3 separate regions of the Homo sapiens genome follow, and all the other regions are linked to region 1. Evidence: promoter capture Hi-C in 16 types of primary human blood cells and fetal thymus (Javierre and others, 2016). All regions are on one chromosome and are shown on one strand. Each heading gives the region's core, a stretch centred on a gene start or on the middle of the fragment in contact. The rest is flanking DNA. Distances are from core to core; before and after follow the strand shown.

What was found. The method cuts DNA at HindIII sites, captures the fragments that hold promoters and counts their contacts. A CHiCAGO score of 5 or more calls a contact.
Region 2: a fragment that was not itself captured here is called in contact with the fragment with the promoter of LIG4 in region 1 in 1 of 17 cell types (M0 macrophages); the score reaches 5.0 in M0 macrophages.
Region 3: a fragment that was not itself captured here is called in contact with the fragment with the promoter of LIG4 in region 1 in 1 of 17 cell types (neutrophils); the score reaches 5.1 in neutrophils.

Annotation. Positions count from the first base shown.
Region 1 is chr13:108,212,117-108,216,988 of GRCh38, reverse strand. It overlaps LIG4 (DNA ligase 4), which reads left to right and starts at 1,453. Exons shown (of 3, transcript NM_206937.2): 1 at 1,453-1,505; 2 at 2,379-2,451. RefSeq lists a silencer at 1,251-1,390 and an enhancer at 1,234-1,528. The HindIII fragment of the contact is 5,824 bases long and covers 1-2,988 here.
Region 2 is chr13:108,507,731-108,512,602 of GRCh38, reverse strand. It overlaps a transcript of MYO16 not described here. Among named protein-coding and RNA genes, the nearest start is that of MYO16, 120 kb to the left of the region's middle. The HindIII fragment of the contact is 4,489 bases long and covers 1-4,247 here.
Region 3 is chr13:108,470,598-108,475,469 of GRCh38, reverse strand. No RefSeq gene overlaps it. Among named protein-coding and RNA genes, the nearest start is that of MYO16, 160 kb to the left of the region's middle. The HindIII fragment of the contact is 2,598 bases long and covers 1,142-3,739 here.

The sequences.
Region 1 (4,872 bases), core at 204-2,703:
CCAAGCATATATAAAGTAGACCATTTACATAAATAAATTAATAATCATGGCAACTCTAGAAGATACTTAGTGAAAAAAACCCTTGATTGTCTTTGAACCAATCAACTAAAATAACATGATGAAATGGAGACTGGGCTTTGAATCAATTTGGAGTTTGCCTGGTTTCATAATTCATGGTTCTTCTCATGTAACTAATACAAAGTCCAGCTTCTGACATTGTAGGAGCTCAGTAGAGGTTGAACAAGCTACAAATGTACACGGATAGGTACCCTCTCCTAAGATGGGCAAGTGGAGGCTCCTCTACCTTAACACTATTCATTTTTCCTCCAAAATAAATTGATAACTAAATTGAAGAGCAGATACTCACAAAACAATATCATGAGACTTTACAACATCACAGATGATTTTAGATATTCAGGCATATTAGGTCAATTAGACATACGAAGTAAATAACTGAATGTTCTTGGGCTAGACGGAACCTCCGCTACAAACTAGCACTGAATGAAATGTGTCAGTTTTGAAAAAGGAGGTTTTTATACATTACACAACCTCTAAGGGCACTTAACAGCTCTAATATGTTTTATCAGGGCCCACTGCAGCAAAATTTATTTTATTGTAAAGCAATATTTTATGCTAAAATAAAATAGTTCTAAAAGTTGTTTCCACCCCTCTTTATGAATAACTTCTCACTTCTCCATGGCGAAAGAGGACTGACCACAGCAAAAATTCGGTGGAAACCAACAGCTCCTGGAACACAAAAACTGGGGTTGTTTATAATCTCTCCACCCTGAATATCTAGCACCATTACTATATAATAATAGGTGCTCAATAAAGGTTTGTTAAATAACTTTATTTTTAAACCTTAAACAGATACTAGAAGAGTCCATAGTTGATTTCTGGTCATGCAACGGTTTATTTCTATATTGTAAGTTATGTATTGTTATGTATTATTTCTGTATTAAGAGAACTGAGACCACAGTAGCAAACATCATTTAAAAAAAAAAACAGCTCTATATAGTTTGCAAAAGCCTATTTTTTAAAAGTTTAAATGAAACAACCAACGTTTTGAGTTGGGAGGATGTCCTGTTCTCTCTTGGGAGTTTTCACAACCAGCGAAATCAGTATAGTTACCACTGTTTTACGTACAGAGAACAAGAATTAGAGGCTATCACTAGCCAGAGCACAAAGTGATCTTAGGTCTCCCTCGAGACAAAATCCACTGGCGTGTGGATCAACTGCTTGCAGAGAGCATCTGCTGCCGAGGCCAATAGGAGCCGTGTGTACTCAAGACCCTAACCAGGATCCTGCAGGTCCCGCCTCCGCAGCCCCACGGGGCTGCCGGCCCCCCCACCTCCCATCGCGAGCCTGGCTGCGCCGGCGTGCTTGAGCCCGGTGACTGCAAGGCCCCGGGTCTCCCCTGCGCCTGCGCGGCGAGCAGCTGGCGGAACCGGCATCTTCTGGCGCCAGCTTCCGGCTTAGCGGCTGAGCTTCAGGCTTGACGTCAGGTGGGAAGGGTGTGGGGTGGCAGGTGGGGGCGGTTGGGAGGTTGGGGGGGGTTGGGGTGGGGGGGGTGGGGGGTGGCAGATTGACGGTGTGGGGGGAGTCAAGTGGAAGGTGTGGTCCAGCAGGCGGCGAGAAGTCTGTGGGGCAACAGACCGGGGGAAGGTCTGTGGGGCGTCAGGCGGGGTATCTGTGGGACGTCAGGTTGGGGTCTGTAGGGCGTCACGTTGGGGGTCTGTGGGGCGTCAGAGGGGGGAATCTGTGGGGCGGCAGGTGGGGGGTGTTCGGGGCGGGGTTTGGGGTGTGTGTGGCGGCAGGAGGCGGGGGAGGTCTGTGGGGCGTCAGGTTAGGGTCTGTGAGGTGTCAGGCGGGGTTTACGTGGGGTGGCAGGTGTGGGGTGTGTGGAGAGTCAAGTGGGGGGTGTGGGGCGTCAGATTGGGGGTCTGGGGGATCAGATGGGTGGTGTCTGGGACGTCAGGCGGGGGTCGGGGGGTCGTCAGGCGGGGGATGTGTGGGGAGTCAAGTAGGGGAAGTGGGGCGTCAGATTGGGGGTCTGGGGGATCCGGTCGTGGGGGTGTCTGGGACGTCAGGCGGGGGGCCTGAGGGGCGTCAGGTGGGGGGGTCTGGGAGGCGTCAGGCGGGGGTCGGTCTATGGGGGCAGCAAGCAGGGTGTTTGTGCAGCGGCAGGTGATGGGAGTTGCCGAGTCCACAGCGCTGTAGACTGCGCCGCATTAGAAGCCTGGCCTCCTGATGCTGTGCTCTTCATCTAGACCCAAGCCCCAGGTCGTGGGACGATTTCTCCCGTTTTTGACTCCCTGGAACTGTATTGCCTGCTTTACCTGCGTACATGTTGATTCTTTCTCATGGCAACCCCGCAGGAAACCATCAAGATCTCATTTTACAGCTGGGATTCTCTGGTTCACAGAGGTAACGGAGCTTGCCCGAGGCCAGGTATTCACTGGGAATCCGTGAAGGGTTGGGGGAGAGTAGGGGGAACGGGCAGAGGAATGATGTAGACTCCTTAGGGATTTTCCATTTTCCGAGAGGGTACAGGGGGCATTGGAGCGGGAGAGACTTTAGGCTTGGAGGGAATTACTTTATTTCTCTTCTTACACTTGGTCTTTCATTAACTTTTGGGATCCCAAAGCCCTTCTAGCGTCTTTGTCTGCTCATTTCTTTTTGCTGAGATTGTCCCAAATTGTCACTAAGTGCTGTGGAAGATAGGCAGCTGTAAACCCTTTGTTTCCTAGGGAAACACAGCTTGTCAAGGGTTGCATGAAGGATACTTCAGTTGCATTCGTCACTTACTCCTTTTTTTCCTCTCTCTTTTTTAAGTGCAATAGCATAGCACTTAATCACCTTCCATAGTCACTGAATAAAACCTGCCGGTTTATTTTCATGTGTCACTTCAGGACAATTTAGTCAGAACTGAATGAATGATGAATCGTTATTGTGTACTAATTGCTTGCATTCATTCTCCTGAAAGCTTTGCTTATTGTTAAAGAGTGAAGCTTCTTCCCACCTTTTTATCTCGTTAATATTTTGCAATATTTATATTTTAAATGTTGCTTGGATCAGCAAGCATTATAGTATTAAAATTATCAAGACTTACTACTTTTTAAAGCACATTTTGTAGATTATCTGATTTTTATCTTCATTCTAATTTCTACATAGTTTTTAACCCCATTTTATACTTTAGGAAACTGAAGCTTAGAGAAATTAAGTAATTGCCCAGTATCACACAGCTGTTAAATGTTACCATCCACATTTGAACTCAGATTTATTAGAGTCTAAAACCTGAGCCCTAACCAGGAACCTCCTCATTTGTCTTACTGCAAATGGAATGAATCAGCTAAAATCCTCAGAATCCAAAAAATAAAATTAGCATGTAAAAATGAATGGAAGTCCTAATCTTTGACTTTTTATGCCGTTGTAATGAGCAAAAATACTTACGACTAGTTTATGGCAATTTTGGAATCCTTGTTATAGGCGTAGCCATTTTAGGATACATGTGTATCCACACCATTACCTACATTTTGTCATTATAAAGTAATTTAAGTCCTTGCCTGGGATTTGTTGAGCGAAACTTTAACTTTGAGACCATGTAGAATCTATAGATATATCTGTAGAAACTATATACCAATATTTGAATATTAAAGAAATATTAGTTAACCTACTTTATTTTACATAGTTTATATAGAAATTGTAGATATAGCATTGTGTACCCTGTTTACTCCCTTGAGGGAGCAAATTTTGGGAGATAGGGCAGTGAACATACATAACCAGGTGTTACAGTCAGTTATGCAAACCAGATTCAGAGAGAGGAAACAACAGTATATTCAAAGATAAAAGTTTCAGGAAAGTGGTCTGTCATGCGTTTATCCCTCGATCTAACCCACTCAGTAGAAGCTGGGTTTCCTTTGTCAGAAATTAGACTGAGAAGTGCACCTTTTTTCTCTATAGGCCACCAAATGGCTGTTGTAAACCATTGCCAGGGCAGTCAGAGCTACTGAATATTTTTAACCAAACTGAATCTCACCCACTGTGTGTCTGCGTGCGTGTGTGAGTGTGTGGTATGTAACCAGACCATAGCTTTCCCTAGTGTGCTTATCCAGGAGTCAACTCTAGGTGTTCAGTAATTCATTCAGCAAACCTCCTACATGTCTGCCACTAGAGCACAAATTACAGCACAATTCCTGGCCTCTAGATACTGACAGTATAGTAAATGTAGTATTGTAATTAGCCATTTGATTTATTTTACTGGATACTAGATAATGTAGCCTTGTGCATGTGTGTGTTGCTCATTTGTTTGCGAATTGGAAGATGGGGAGTCACATATTTTCTGCACTGTAATAGATCTCCCCACTCCCAGCAAAACTTCTCCAACTCCACTGCCTGGGATACATGGTGGTGTGCCAGGAGGGGTCTGAAACCACAGGATAAAACATAGTTTCTATTCATGGACCATACATTTTACTTGAAATCTTTTTTTGGAAAAGTTATTTAACATTACATAGTTTAAACCATATTAAAATTACTCTAATATATTTATCTTCCAGTAGAACTTGTATGAATATTTAAAACTAAAGAAATTTACACTTGTGAAATTTTAGGAAATATTCTTGCCCTAGCTTAGCAAGGTACCCATTATTTCTTCTCTGACTTTAGCAGATACTTTAGGGAAAAGCTCTCCCCTCAGGACATTTTACGTTTGTTTTATTTTGTTAAAGCACTTGGCATTTTATTATACTCAGTTTCCACTACACTCCCCCCCTTTTTTTCTTTTCTTTTTTTTCTTTTTTTTTTTTTACAGAATATATTTTCTTTTAAAGCAGAAACATGCAGTATTTTCCCCTAGCACAGTGTATGTAG
Region 2 (4,872 bases), core at 754-3,253, 300 kb before region 1:
CCAATATCATACTGAATGGGCAAAAACTGGAAGCATTCCCTTTGAAAACTGGCACAAGACAGGGATGCCCTCTCTCACCGCTCCTATTCAACATAGTGTTGGAAGTTCTGGCCAGGGCAATCAGGCAGGAGAAGGAAATAAAGGGTATTCAATTAGGAAAAGAGGAAGTCAAATTGTCCCTGTTTGCAGACGACATGATTGTTTATCTAGAAAACCCCATCGTCTCAGCCCAAAATCTCCTTAAGCTGATAAGCAACTTCAGCAAAGTCTCAGGATACAAAATCAATGTACAAAAATCACAAGCATTCTTATACACCAACAACAGACAAACAGAGAGCCAAATCATGAGTGAACTCCCATTCACAATTGCTTCAAAGAGAATAAAATACCTAGGAATCCAACTTACAAGGGATGTGAAGGACCTCTTCAAGGAGAACTACAAACCACTGCTCAAGGAAATAAAAGAGGACACAAACAAATGGAAGAACATTCCATGCTCATGGGTAGGAAGAATCAATATCGTGAAAATGGCCATACTGCCCAAGGTAATTTACAGATTCAATGCCATCCCCATCAAGCTACCAATGACTTTCTTCACAGAATTGGAAAAAACTACTTTAAAGTTCATATGGAACCAAAAAAGAGCCCGCATCGCCAAGTCAATCCTAAGCCAAAAGAACAAAGCTGGAGGCATCACACTACCTGACTTCAAACTATACTACAAGGCTACAGTAACCAAAACAGCATGGTACTGGTACCAAAACAGAGATATAGATCAATGGAACAGAACAGAGCCCTCAGAAATAATGCCGCATATCTACAACTATCTGATCTTTGACAAACCTGAGAAAAACAAGCAATGGGGAAAGGATTCCCTATTTAATAAATGGTGCTGGGAAAACTGGCTAGCCATATGTAGAAAGCTGAAACTGGATCCCTTCCTTACACCTTATACAAAAATCAATTCAAGATGGATTAAAGATTTAAACGTTAGACCTAAAACCATAAAAACCCTAGAAGAAAACCTAGGCATTACCATTCAGGACATAGGCGTGGGCAAGGACTTCATGTCCAAAACACCAAAAGCAATGGCAACAAAAGCCAAAATTGACAAATGGGATCTAATTAAACTAAAGAGCTTCTGCACAGCAAAAGAAACTACCATCAGAGTGAACAGGCAACCTACAACATGGGAGAAAATTTTCGCAACCTACTCATCTGACAAAGGGCTAATATCCAGAATCTACAATGAACTCAAACAAATTTACAAGAAAAAAACAAACAACCCCATCAAAAAGTGGGCGAAGGACATGAACAGACACTTCTCAAAAGAAGACATTTATGCAGCCAAAAAACACACGAAGAAAGCTCATCATCACTGGCCATCAGAGAAATGCAAATCAAAACCACTATGAGATATCATCTCACACCAGTTAGAATGGCAATCATTAAAAAGTCAGGAAACAACAGGTGCTGGAGAGGATGTGGAGAAATAGGAACACTTTTACACTGTTGGTGGGACTGTAAACTAGTTCAACCATTGTGGAAGTCAGTGTGGCGATTCCTCAGGAATCTAGAACTAGAAATACCATTTGACCCAGCCATCCCATTACTGGGTATATACCCAAATGACTATAAATCATGCTGCTATAAAGACACATGCACACGTATGTTTATTGCGGCATTATTCACAATAGCAAAGACTTGGAACCAACCCAAATGTCCAACAATGATAGACTGGATTAAGAAAATGTGGCACATATACACCATGGAATACTATGCAGCCATAAAAAATGATGAGTTCATGTCCTTTGTAGGGACATGGATGAAATTGGAAACCATCATTCTCAGTAAACTATCACAAGAACAAAAAACCAAACACCGCATATTCTCACTCATAGGTGGGAATTGAACAATGAGATCACATGGACACAGGAAGGGGAATATCACACTCTGGGGACTGTGGTGGGGTCGGGGGAGGGGGGAGGGATAGCATTGGGAGATATACCTAATGCTAGATGACACGTTAGTGGGTGCAGTGCACCAGCATGGCACATGTATACATATGTAACTAACCTGCACAATGTGCACATGTACCCTAAAACTTAAAGTACAATAAAAAAAAAAAAAAAAAAAAAAAACAGCTATCAATGTTAAATATAAAAAAAAAAAAAAAATTAACTATCTACCGGGCATGGTGGCTCACGCCTGTAATCCCAGCACTTTGGGACGCCAAGGAGGATGGATCACAAGGTCAGGAGATCGAGACCATCCTGCCTAACACGGTGAAACCCCATCTCTACTAAAAACACAAAAAAATTAGCCGGGCGTGATGGCGGGCACCTGTAGTCCCAGCTACTCGGGAGGCTGAGGCTGGAGAATGGCGTGAACCCGGGAGGCAGAGCTTGCAGTGAGCCGAGATAGCGCCATTGCACTCCAGCCTGGGCGACAGGGCGAGACTCTGTCTCGAAAAACAAAAAACGAAAACAAACAAACAAAAAATAAAAATTAACTATCATGACTATCCTTCTGCAATCCACAAGCATTCTAGGGCAGAACTAATATTGGGGATTATTTCAGGTGTTACTTGACCATGGCTTTAGCCCCTTGCTCTTCTCACTCAACGTACTCAACTTCTGCTGTATCTTGTAGCAAAGTTAGTAATAAAAGGGCTTCTGGGATGACAGCACCATGACTGTAGCAAAACAATGTTGGGGTTGGGCGGGGGAAGAAAAAGAGAGAGTCCATGATGCAAGAAAAGTCCTGGGCCACACTCAGTTGGGTCATATTCCTTTTTTTATTATTATTATACTTTAAGTTTTAGGGTACATGTGCATAATGTGCAGGTTTTTTACATATGTATACATGTGCCATATTGGTATGCTGCACCCATTAACTCGTCATTTAACATTAGGTATATCTTCTAATGCTATTCTTAAACTTGAAAAGTGACCAAAGGTAAAATAAAGTCATCAGAGCAAGCAAGATTATGCTGATCAACTGAAGCCAATCATAGCCCACTTTTAGAGCTTGAGTTGGACCAATCTCATTCAAACCATGTGGTTACTACATTATGAGGAAAGAGTGGAATTAATGCTAACTTGTATATTCTCATATGTACACATACATGTATACACAATCCGACAGTCAACCTTAGGGAAAGATGTACAGCAAAGTGTAAAGTGTAGCTTTCCATAGAGTAGTAGGATTATGAATTCTTTCATTTTTTTCTTTTGAATTATTTGTACTTTGTAATGTTTCTATTAACAACCAAAAACCCTTTCTCTAGTTTCTGTAGGAGAGAAATCGTCACTTAAAAATACTCTTCAGGTTGTGCAAGTATCATACTGTGCAAGTTGATATTTATCTGGGATTCCAATTCCGTTTCTGTTGGTCTTTCATTATTTGACCTTGATCAGTCCTCTACTTATATTACTCCCTGAAGGTTTCAGATCTCTCTACCTGTTCTTTTAACTATCTTTTACTAAAATTTATCTTTGATGGTCTAAGGCTAACACTGGTTTATTAAACATTTTACTTTAAAGCAACCTGGTTTAGCTCAGCGTTTCTCACCTTACTCAGTTTCTCCTGTCCACAAATAGGAATGACAGCTAATGAGAGCAATGGTGTCCTCTGGAAAATCCAGGAAAGTTTGCAGAACATCTGGTTAAAATTAAACTAAACTCCAGTCTATGGGATGGTAACAGGATAACTGAATAGTAAGTCCCATCCCTCACTCTCCCAAAAAGACACTGTCTAAAAAGCAACATATGAACCAAACACCTTTACGAGAACTTCAGAAACCAATGAAGAAGCTGCAGTACCCTCAGGGAATGCAACTTCAAGAATATCTGCACTGAAATGGATAAGAAAAGCCTTTACATTCTACCGTCCCTCCCTCTACCCCAAGCTGGCAGAGCTCAGCACAGCTGGGAGAAAACTCTCAACTCATAGCTTCTCTCTCAGGAGGGAAAGAGAAGGAGGAAAAAATGCATCCAATGTTAGGGCTTTCAGGAGATAGCAAGACACTGATTTCTCTTCAACCTGATTTAGAATACTGACAAAACTTGCATACTTTAGATCCCTGGGAGCCACTGAGAACAAAAGAGAACGGTTGGCTTGCTGAAGCAGCAACAAAGATAAACACCAGAGGGAGCAGGAGATTACAAACTCCAAGAAAAGAAACAAGCAAACCTCTCTGGAAAATTACACATACTAGCCAGAGAAAGTGCATCCCCAAAAAAGCTTTGAGAGGCCTCCAGAACCTCTAGCTGGGCTGACTAGTGAAAGTCTTCCTCAGTATAAAGCTAGTCCATAAAGACTAAGAAAGATAGCTTTTTTTTTTTTTTCAAATGCCCAAGTTTCAGCAAAAAACTACAAGGCATACAGAGAAAGAGGGAAACTTGGCCCAATCAAAAGAACAAAATAAATATCCAGAATTCAACCTGAAAGAAGTCGAGATCTATGAATTATGTAACAAATAATTTGAAATAGCTATCTTATAGCAGCTTAATGAGTTTAAATAAGACACAGATAGACAAATAAGAAAAAAATCCAGAAACCTATGTGTGAACAAAAAGAGAATATTAACAAAGAGATAGGAATTACACATTAAAAAAAAATTTCTGGACTTTAAGTATATAATAACTGAGCTGAAAAATTCACTATAAATGTTCAACAGACTTGGCCAAGCAAAAGAAAAAAAAATGCTGAATTTGAGGATAAGTCATTTGAAGTCATCTAATCAGAAGGTAGATAATAATATAAGTGATATTATTTTCTATAATACCAATCAGATAGAAATGAAGAAATCATAAGATACTTATGAGACATCACTGACTGGGCCAACATATGCATTATGAGAGACCCAGA
Region 3 (4,872 bases), core at 1,191-3,690, 260 kb before region 1:
TAGACATGGAAATATTTAAAAATAAAAATATCTGAGAGAGGTGGAGCTGACCTAGGACAGAGAATGCGTTTTTAGTCTGTTGAAATGATGATACAGCATATTTTCCATTTGCTAGAAAGTCATGAGATACACTTATGGGTTATGGAAGAGACAAGATACAATGCCAGGATGGAAGGAAGCCAAATAAAGAATGGAGATTCCCCACACCAGCCTTTCTGATTTTGTAATTTACTAGTTTATTCTCAGTCAAGAGAATAGGGTAAATAGATGCTCCTCATGGAAGCACTTCCACCCCTATGAATCTTGGAGAGCCACCTTCTGCCTGAAGACCGAGGCACTAGAAGGTGAATTACCAATGAAGATCAGATCCCTCTTCAGTCAGTCTACATCTTAAATGCGAATGCCAGTTTGCCACTTTGACTCCATTTATCTCAAGTTGAAATCTCTGCAATTAATCTTTTTGCCTTGTTTCAAATCAGCTTCCTAAATGCATCACCTCTGGGCATTTTAGAAATTTCTTTGTACCAGAATATATTTGCCTAAAAAAATGAGTTGCCATTTCAAATAAACCTCTAGAGGCCAAAGTGGTTTATGTTAGCCATTAAATTTTCAGGTGGTTGTTCTTATTCCTGTATTTTAAAAAATTACTAAGAGTAAAAACAAAAATATCATTGGTCTCTGAAAACACAATGTTCAAAACTGCAATTTTTAAAAATGACATCTTGTCTTTCTAACAATACCGAGTACAATTGTTATATGTGATTGTTACTTAACATTCTTAAATTTGGTTCCACCATAAAATGCATTTTTAAATCTTAAAATATAAATTATACATATACATATATATCATGTATATACAGGTATATAATGTACATTTCAAACAGAATTTGCTTCTGAACAGCATTCCACAGTATCTATTTTTAATTCTTTTCTTTCTGAAAGAATATAAGACAGCTTACGAGGAGAAATATAAAGTGCAGTTGTCCTTTGTTATACACAGAATTGGTTCCAGGATCCCTGAGTACACCAAGATCTGTCCATACGCAAGTCCCCACGTCAGCCATGTGAAACCTGTGTATCTGAAGAGTCTGCCCTTGGTATAGGCAGGTTTTGTATCCCATGAATACTGTATTTTCAAGCTTCATTTGATTGCAAACAATCTGTATATAAGTTGACCTACACAGTTCAAAACTTTTGTTGTTCAAAGAGCAGCTGTAGAAAGAGGTGCATAGGTATGGAAATGAAAGCAAAAGACAAATAGAGGAGGCAGAACATTAAGATGAGAGAATTAATTGATACATAGCATATGTATTGCAGTCTTACAAAATGGCATCTATAATAAATGACTGATTTAAAATATAATAAGCATAGATGGCCACTAAATTTGGACCTCACAGTTGTTTTAGAAATGATCAACAGTAAAAGTGAATGTAAGCATATATCTCAACATTTGCATCTTTCACAAGATAAATGTGTGCTACTTGCTGTGGCAATGGCACACTTTCTTTTCTTGTTATTTTGGTCTGTGAAAAATATTTTCCAATGAAGCATTTTATTTATAGGCACACATAACCAGGTTGTCAAAGTGGCAGTGTTTACAGAAGGATTGTAGCTAATTTTACCTGTCATGATACTCTGGTGTAGAAGATGTTAAACCTTTTAAGAAACAATTAAACAGAAATAATTAACATTTGTAAATTGCTATATAGCTTAAAATAACTTCTATATAAAATAGTTCTTGTAATCTTAAAGTTCTTGGAAACCATTAATTTCATTACTTCAATTTAATGTTTGAGATTACTGAACATAGCTCTTTCCCAAATCCGGTGAGGAAAACATTTAGGACTCAAATTCAGATTTCATGATTGCATATAATGTTTTCATTTAACTCTCCTGAATTTGGGATGTTATATTTTTATCCTGAGCATGTCATTTATGTTTTTAGTTTACATTGAAAAAATTTTCTTCTGAATTTTGATCAGAGGTAAGTAGGTCTTAGTGCATTGAGACAAATAACTAGTATATTTGTCCATTTTCACACTGCTATAAAGAACTTCCCTGAGACTGGGTAATTTATAAAGGAAAGAGGTTTAATCAGCTCACAGCTCCACATGGCTTGGGAGTGCCCAGGAAACTTACAATCCTGGCAGAAGGGGAAGCAGCCACCTTCTTCACAAGGCAACGAGAGAGAGAGAGAAGAGCAAAGAAGAACTTCCAAACACTTATAAAACCATCAGATCTCATGAAAACTCACTAGAACAGCATGGGGGAAACTGCCCCCATGATCCAATCACCTCCATCCCTCTACATGTGGGGATTACAGGTCCCCTCTCGACATGTGAGGATTAGAATTCGAGATGAGGTTTGGGTGACAACACAGAACCAAACCATGTCATTCTGCCCTGAACCCTCCCAAATCTCATGTCTTTTCACATTTGAAAACCAATCATCCCTTCTTAACAGTCTCCTCAAAGTCTTAACTCATTTCAGCATTAACTCAAAAGTCCATAGTCTAAAGTCTCATCAGAGACAAGGCAAGTCCCTTCCACCTATGAGCGTGTAAAATCAAAAGCAAGTTAGTTACTTCCTAGATGCAATGGGGGTGCAGGCATTGGTTAAATGCTCCCATCCCAAATGGGAGAAATTTGCCAAAACAAAGAGGCTACAGGCCCCATGTAGGAGCAAAATCCAGTGACAGTCATTAAATCTTAAAGCTCCAAAATAATCTCCTTTGACTCCATGTCTCACATCCCAGGCATGCCGATGCAAGGAGCGGATGCCCATGGCCTTGGGCAGCTCCTTCACAGGCTGGCATTGAGTGCTTGTGGCTTTTCCAGGCAGTGCACGCTATTGGTGGATCTACCATTCTGGGTTCTGGAGGATGGTGGCCCTCTTCTCATAGCTCCGCTAAGCAGTGGCCCAGTAGGGACTCTGTGTGGGGGCCCCAGCCTCACATTTCCCTTCCACACTTCCCTAGCAGAGGTTCTGCATAAGGGCTCTACCCCTGCAACAGACTTCTGCCTAGACATCTAGGTGTTTCCATACATCCTATGAAATCTAGATGGAGGTTCCCAAACCTCAGTTCTTGACTTCTGTGCACCTGCAGGCTCAACACCATGTGGAAGCTGCCAAGTCTTGTGGCTTGCAGCTTCTGAAGCAATGGCTTGAGCTGTACATTGTCCCCTTTTAGCCATGGCTGGAGTTGGAGTGACTGGGATGCAGGGCACCAAGTCCCAAGGCTGCACACAGCAGCAGGGCCCTGGGCCTGGCCCATGAAACCATTTTTTCCTCCTAGGCCTCAGGCCTATGATGGGAGGGGCTGCTACCAAGATCTCTGACATGCCCTGGAGACATTTTCTCCATTGTCTTGGCTAGTAACATTCGGCTCCTCGTTACTTATGCAAATTTCTGCAGCCTCCTTGAATTTCTCCCCAGAAATTTTTTTTCTATCGTTATCATTAGGCTGCAAATTTTCCAAATGTTTATGCTCTGCTTCCCTTTTAAACATAAGTTGCCATTTCAGATCAGCTTTCTTGAGTTCAAAGTTCTGTAGATCTCTAGGACAGGGGCAAAATGTCATCAGTCTCTTTGCTCAAGCGAAGCAAGAGTAATCTTTGCTCCAGTTCCCAAGACGCTCCTTATCTCCATCTGAGACCATCTCAGCCTGAATTTTTTTGTTTACATCATTATCATCATTTTGGTCAAAGCCATTCAACAAGTCTCTAGGAAGTTCCAAGCTTTCCCACGTCTGTCTGTCTTCTTCTGAGCCCTCCAAGTTGTTCCAACCTCTGCCTGTTACCCAGTTCCAAAGTTGCTCCCACATTTTCAGGTTATCTTTATAGCAGTGCCCCACTCCTGGTACAAATTTATTGTATTAGTCCATTTTCACACTGCTATAAAGAATTTTCCTGAGACTAGTAATTTACAAAGGAAAGAGGTTTAATTGAGTCACAGTTCCACATGGCTGGGGAGGTCTCAGGAAACTTAAAATCATGGTGGAACAGAAAGGAGCCACCTTCATCACAAGGCATCAGGAGAGAGAAGAGCAAAGGAGGAACTTCCAAATACTTATAAAAACATCAGATCTTGTAAGAAGATCTTGTAAGGAAAAACAGCATGGGGGAAACTGCTCCTATGATCCAATCACCTCCCTCCTTCAACATGTGGGGATTACTGGTCCCTTCCTCGACACGTGGAATTACAATTTGAGATGAGGTTTGGGTGAGGACACAGAGCCAAACCATTTCAACTAGTACATAAACTTTACTTAAGGAGTTCCCTTGAGTATGAAAAGTAAGTTGAGTTTCTTGCATTCACCAACGTGACTTAAAAGATCATTTCTTATCCTTTCATGTGCATATGAATCACCCGGGGATTTTGTTAGATACAGATTCTGATTTGGCAGCTGGGGGGTGGTGCCAGGCACCAGCATCTCTCATTGCATTTTCCACAATGCCAAGTTGATCTCTGGAGCTTCCCTCTCCATAGGCTTGCGTAGTTCCCAACTTCTTTTCAATTTACAGATTTCAGTATCAAATGTTACCTTGGAGAATTTCACAGCAACCTTGTTTAGTGTGTGAGCTATGAATTGCTATTATTGATCTCATTTTACCGATAAAACCAAGTCTTTCAAAGAGGTCAGTGAGTACTCAGAACAATTCAGCTGCTAGAAAGGCAATTACAAATTCACATTAATGGCTGTTTTTCTGATTTGAAAGCTCTTTCCACCATCTCACCACTGCCTTAGAAAAAGTGCTATGATACTTCGTCTTGCACTATTATACCAGGACACTGTGCATCAGCAAATGCAGGAGTTGGCAAAGTGGTGCAGTTGTAACCCAAAAAGGTTCAGAAGCATCTGCTAACTCCTGC